2 separate regions of the Homo sapiens genome follow, and region 1 is linked to region 2. The links are contacts of gene promoters, found by promoter capture Hi-C in human tissues and cell types (Jung and others, 2019). All regions are on one chromosome and are shown on one strand. The core of a region is centred on a gene start or on the middle of the fragment in contact, and the rest is flanking DNA. Distances in the headings are between cores, read along the strand shown.

The links. Contacts are between HindIII fragments. The study calls those that stand out against the background at their distance.
Region 1: a contact is called between a fragment that was not itself captured here and the fragment with the promoter of C17orf107 in region 2, in 2 of the 25 tissues and cell types used here (aorta and spleen).

Annotation. Positions count from the first base shown.
Region 1 is chr17:5,009,062-5,012,387 of GRCh38, forward strand. The region is part of intron 16 of KIF1C (kinesin family member 1C); the gene reads left to right. Among named protein-coding and RNA genes, the nearest start is that of KIF1C-AS1, 9.4 kb to the right of the region's middle. RefSeq lists a silencer at 3,176-3,235. The HindIII fragment of the contact is 9,299 bases long and covers 1-3,326 here.
Region 2 is chr17:4,898,286-4,900,785 of GRCh38, forward strand. It overlaps C17orf107 (chromosome 17 open reading frame 107), which reads left to right and starts at 1,251. Exons shown (of 3, transcript NM_001145536.2): 1 at 1,251-1,543; 2 at 1,651-1,860; 3 at 1,952-2,500. The coding sequence starts at 1,478. The coding sequence ends at 2,248. It overlaps CHRNE (cholinergic receptor nicotinic epsilon subunit), which reads right to left. Exons shown (of 12, transcript NM_000080.4): 9 at 1,183-1,297; 10 at 913-1,099; 11 at 716-822; 12 at 1-606. The coding sequence ends at 451. RefSeq lists silencers at 848-997, 1,018-1,127 and an enhancer at 1,328-1,637. The HindIII fragment of the contact is 33,281 bases long and covers 1-2,500 here.

The DNA of each region.
Region 1 (3,326 bases), core at 186-2,685, 110 kb after region 2:
CTAAAAGGTGTGTACAGTGAAAAGTCTCCAATTTACAGCATTTTGTTATAGAAAAAAAAAAAAAGTAACTCTCCATCCTTCCCACCCTTAAGTTTCCCCTCAGAGGCAGCCTTCATTATGAGTTCTTTTTTTTTTTGAGACGGGGTCTTGTACTGTCACCCGGGCTGGAGTGCAACGGTGCAATCTTGGCTGACTGCAACCTCCGCCTCCTGGGTTCATACGATTCTTCTGCCTCAGCCTCCCAAGTAGCTGGGATTACAGGCGCACACCATCACACCCGGCTAATATTTTGTATTTTTAGTAGAGATGGGGTTCACTATGTTGGCCGGAGTGGTCTTGAACTTCTGACCTCGTGATCCACCCACTTCGGAGTCCCAAAGTGCTGGGGTTACAGGTGTGAGCCACCGTGCCAGGCCCATTATGGGTTCTTACTATATTCTCCTTGGGTCGGGCCTGGTGGCTCACACCTGTAATCCTAGCACTTTGGGAGGCCAAGGCGGGTGGATCACGAGGTCAGGAGATTGAGACCATCCTGGCTAACACAGTGAAACCCCGTCTCTACTACAAATACAAAAAATTAGCCACGTGTGCTGGCGGGCGCCTGTAGTCCCAGCTACTAGGGAGGCTGAGGCAGTAGAATGACATGAACCCGGGAGGCAGAGGTTGCAGTGAGCTGAGATCGCACCACTGCACTCCAGCCTGGGTGACAGACAAGACTCTGTCTCAAAAAAAAAAAAAAGAAAAAATGTTCTCCTAGAGATGCTGTCTAGGAGATGTTATAACACATGTACAGGCATATGTTATATAGAACTATACACATTTACTCACATTCACGGCCTCTCTAATAGTTGTAGTTGCATATCTATTTTATTTATTTATTTTGAGACAAGAGTCACACTCTGTCGCCCAGGCTGGAGTGCAGTGGCACAATCTCAGCTCAGTGCAAACTCTGCCTCCCAGGTTCAAGTGATTCTCATGCCTCAGCCTCCCAAGTAGCTGGGATTACAGGCACCCACCACCACGCCGGGCTAATTTTTGTATTTTAGTAGAGACAGGGTTTCGCCATGTTGGCCAGGCTGGTCTCAAACTCCTGGCCTCAAATGATGCACTGGCCTTGGCCTCCTGAAGTGCTGGTATTACAGGTGTGAGCTACTGTGCTTGGCCTGCATACCTTATTTTAAAGCTTCCTTTATTTTTTTCACGGTGTCAGGGTATTCTATTGTGTAGATGTAGGATAATGTATTTAACCAGCTTCCCACTGATGGACATTCAGATTGTTTCCCATTCCTTGATACTACAAAAAAAGGCTACAATGCATAGTCTTACAAATGGGTGTTATCTGTAGAGCAGATTCCTAGAAATGGAGATTTTGGGTCAAATGGTAGCCATGTAAAATTTTAATCTAGGCCGGGTGCGGTGGCTCACGCCTGTAATCCCAGCACTTTGGGAGGCCGAGGCGGGCGGATCACGAGGTCAGGAGATCGAGACCATCCTGGCTAACAAGGTGAAACCCCATCTCTACTAAAATAGAAAAAATTAGCCGGGCGTGGTGGCGGGCACCTGTAGTCCCAGCTACTTGGGAGGCTGAGGCAGGAGAATGGCGTGAACCCGGGAGGCGGAGCTTGCAGTGAGCCGAGATCATGCCACTGCACTCCAGCCCAGGTGACAGAGCGAGACTCCGTCTCAAAAAAAAAAATTTTTTTTTTAATCTATATTGCCAAAGTGCCCTCTGAAGATTATAACCATACCAATTTATTTTACTTTTTTGAGATGGAGTCTTGCTGTGTTGCCCAGGCTGGAGTGCAGTGGTGCAATCTCGGCCCACTGCAAGCTCCGCCTCCCGGGTTCACGCCATTCTCCTGCCTCAGCCTCCCAAGTAGCTGGGACTACAGGCGCCCACCACCACTCCTGGCTAATTTTTTGAACCATACCAATTTATACTCCCAAGGGTAACATACAAGAGAGCCCATTTCCCCTCGCCCTTTCCCACATTCTGGCTTAGTAAGACTTTTCTCTTTGCCTGTGTGATTGGTGAGAAGGTGTCTTAAGGTAGTTCACTTTTACATTTTTCTCAAGGTGGTGAGGATGAACTCTTCTCATGTTTAAAAGCCATGTGGTCTAAAGCCAGAAGAGAGAACTGTTAGACTCATGGGGAAATGGGTTTGGTGTGAGTAGCTCCAACAGGGAATAGTTGGGTCTTAGAGGAAAAAACTACAGTTTGTCTTGGAGGGAGCCTCCTCTTGCTAAGACCCCCACCACCAGGGCTAAGGATTGCTTAAATCAGTGGTGTTCAAACCTGGTTCTGAGCTGCCTTCTCAGGGGCTGAGGATAGGGACAGGACCAGACCCTGGGGCTCTCACCCCCAGCCTGGGCCTGAGCAGCTTCTTGCTTATCTGCTTGATGTCCTAGGCTTCTAGAGAAGGTTTCATTTTGAACAAAGAGTTATAGGGCTGAAGAAAAAGTTGAAAAGCACCGCCTCAAATCGTGTTCCCTCTCCCCAGGGATAGATTGCTTTCTGCTTCCGGAGCCCATCAGCGTTTGCCAGTCCCAGAGCAGGCCTGACACTGCAGTGTAGGGAGGGGCATGGGAGTCCCTCAGGAGAAGTGTCGCAGGAGTGATCCTTGGAGCACTTGGGTGAAGGGCGGATGCACAAGATACACAGACACCTCTGGGGGACACAGCTTTGGGCTCTGAGTGTTAAGTGGCTCCCAGAGAAATAGAGGTTCGACTCCGTGCTGTTTCCCTTCTGTACCCTGTGCTTTCTGCCTCCATGCTTCTGTCCAGGCTGCTTTCACCCGGAGCGCTCTTGTGCATGTCCACGCCCTCCTTGTCCTCAAAGGCTGGCTCCCATGTTACCCTTCCATTAAGTCCTCCTGATCCCCTTGAAATCCCATAGTTCTTCACTTTGTTCCTCTTTGCATGTGAGTCCCTCCCAGAACACAGTGGCACTCAACCCCCTGGGAACAAATGAATGAATAAACGAACTTAAACAAGGGCATGAGACAATCAGAAACTCCTCCATGAGGCATCCGTTTCCCACTTGTAATGGTGTTTCCACGCCAAGCCTCACCTCCCCTAGCTGACTCTCATTTCCTGACTGACTGGACAGCAGTGCCTGGGCTTGACTCATCTCTGTACCCCGCCTAGCGCTTCACCAGGGTGAGGTAGAAAGGCCACAGTCAGTCCTTCTGCAGCAGAGGCAGGGGTCTTGTGTTCTGATGGAAGGCTTAGGAAAACTTCCCGGAGGAAGTTGCATTTCAGACAGACTGGGAGGAACGTGAAGGAAGTGAATGATTTTGGCAGGTGGGGGCGGGGCGGGAGGCGGT
Region 2 (2,500 bases), core at 1-2,500:
TGTTTGGTTCCCACCCGCTCCAGCAGAGCCAGACCAGGGAAGAAGAGGGTTTCCTGGCTACAGCCTCCCTGTGTGCAAGTCCTGCAAAGGGGTCTCCTGTTTGGCTATGAAATGAATATAGATAGATAGCTCACAAGCTGGCAGCCACCAGAGTCCCGTGGGGCTGAGCCTTAGAAAGGCTGGGAGGTCAGCAAGGCTGAATGAAGGGCAGTCCTTGCTTTCTGGAAGACTGGCACCTGAGAGCCTATGTGAACCCTTTCCTCCTGCTGACCCCTGGACTGCGGCCAGGCCTACACACGCCAGGGAACGGGCACACACCATTCTTGTGAAGTTCACAAACTGCAGATTGATCAGCAGGGGGAAGGGATCATAATGCCGTGGTGGCGGCAGCCTACTTTTTCAAAATCAATTTCCTACTGGAGATGGGTGGGAAATTGAAGTCGGTGCGAGCTAAGGCTGGATACACGGCGCGTAGGGGAGATCAGGCACTCGGTTGAAGTAGGCCCCGAGGAAGATGAGGCTGGAGCCCACGCTGAAGAGCACCAGAGCGGCCCAGAAGCAGATGTTGTCAAGGGCATTCCCCATGCGCACCCAGTCGGACACTTCCTGGGGAAGGGTCGGCACAGTCAGTAAAGAGGCAGCTGCAGGAGCCAGCGGCATGGGAGACAGTGGTGGGCCTCTGCCTCGCTCCACCCGCCTCTGGCTCCTGTCCCACCTCGCCGGTGGCCTCCTGATCTCTCGTGCTCTCGGCCACGAAGTTCACGGCATCCACACAGCAGCGGACCTCGGGGGCGGCGGCGCCCAGGCTCTGGCAGAAGGCAGCTGGCGGGGAAAACACCGGGGTGGGCCTTAGGAGCCTCCCCCCTGGCAGGCACCCCGCGCGGCCCCCCGGGCCAGGGCCACTGTGCTCACCCGTCCAGGTCCCCTGCCGGTGCCTCTGCCCCTCAAACACGAGCTCGCTCCGTGGCTTTTTCAGTATCAGCTCCTCCGCGCGGAGCAATAAGCCCACCGACGACGCCCGCCTTGGGGGCGAGGCGGCCCGGGGGGCCTCGGGCGGCGGCGGGGAGCCCAGGAGGCGCGGCAGCAGCTCCAGGAGAACCTGGGGCAGGGGCGGGGCTTAGGGGACGAGGTTAGTACGAAGCCCCACCCCGACCCGGGCTGCACCGCCCCCTCCGCGCTTACGTGGCGCAGCCGCGGGGACATGGCGTGGGTGGTGGGCGTCCGCTGGGACACGTTGAGCACGATGACGCAATTCATGACAATGAGCGTGGCGACCACCATGACGAAAATAAGGAACCTGAGGAGCCCGGAAGGCATGACATCACCGTTCCTCCTCCCAGCTACCGAAGGCGCCGCGCGCTGACCTCACAAACACGGCTTCTCCTGGTACGGGCTGGTTACGCCCTCCAGCTGCGCCCCCTACACGACGACAGACGCGTCCCCCAGCCCTTCTCCTGTCCTACCACTTGTGGCGGCCATGAAGGGGACCCCCAGCTCCCTGGACACCCTGATGTGGATCTACCACTTCCACAGCTCCACCGAGGTGAGGCTACGCCCGCCAAGGGCTGCACCTCGAGACCTTCTGGGTAGGTCTCCTGTTCGCCCCTGTGACCCCTGCCCTGCTACTCTACTGCTCTGCTCCTTCTCCAGGTGGCCCTCCAGCCCCCGCTTCTGTCTTCCCTGGAACTCTCCGTGGCCGCAGCCCATGAATATCTGGAGCAGAGGTTCAGAGAGCTGAAGTCCCTGGAGCCACCCGAACCGAAGATGCAGGGGATGCTGCCTGCCCCGAAGCCCACCCTGGGGCTGGTGTTGAGAGAAGCCACAGCCAGCCTCGTGAGCTTCGGCACCACCTTGTTAGAGGTGGGGTACTGGGGGGCTTAGGATACGCGGCGATCGGGTAGCGGGAACAAGGACCTCTGCCTCCCCGCTAACCCCTGTGCCCCCAATGCAGATCTCAGCCCTGTGGCTGCAGCAGGAGGCGCGGCGACTAGACGGCAGCGCGGGCCCAGCCCCAGACGGCAGGGATCCGGGTGCAGCGCTGAGCCGGGTAGCCCAAGCCGCAGGGCAGGGGGTTCGGCAAGCTGGGGCTGCGGTGGGCGCCAGCGCCCGGCTCCTAGTCCAGGGAGCATGGCTATGCCTGTGTGGACGGGGTCTGCAGGGGTCTGCCTCATTCCTGCGACAGTCGCAACAGCAGCTAGGCCTCGGAATCCCCGGAGAACCGGTGAGCTCAGGACACGGGGTGAGTTAGGGGCCAGAGGCGGCGGGGCTAGGGAGGCACTGAGCCGGACTGTCCCCCAAGAGAGCTACTCGGGAGACCTCCAGGTGACGTCCAGCAGCAGTGAGGAGGACGGCGGACCAGGGACTCCATCCCCGTACCAGCCCCACCCAGCGTCCGAATAAAGCCCAGGGCGGGGCGAGACAGCCAGAGCTTTTCCCGGGGTCTCTGGGTTTTGGCCACGCCCCCACCCTTCACACTGGCCACACCCCCGCGGGGGCTCCG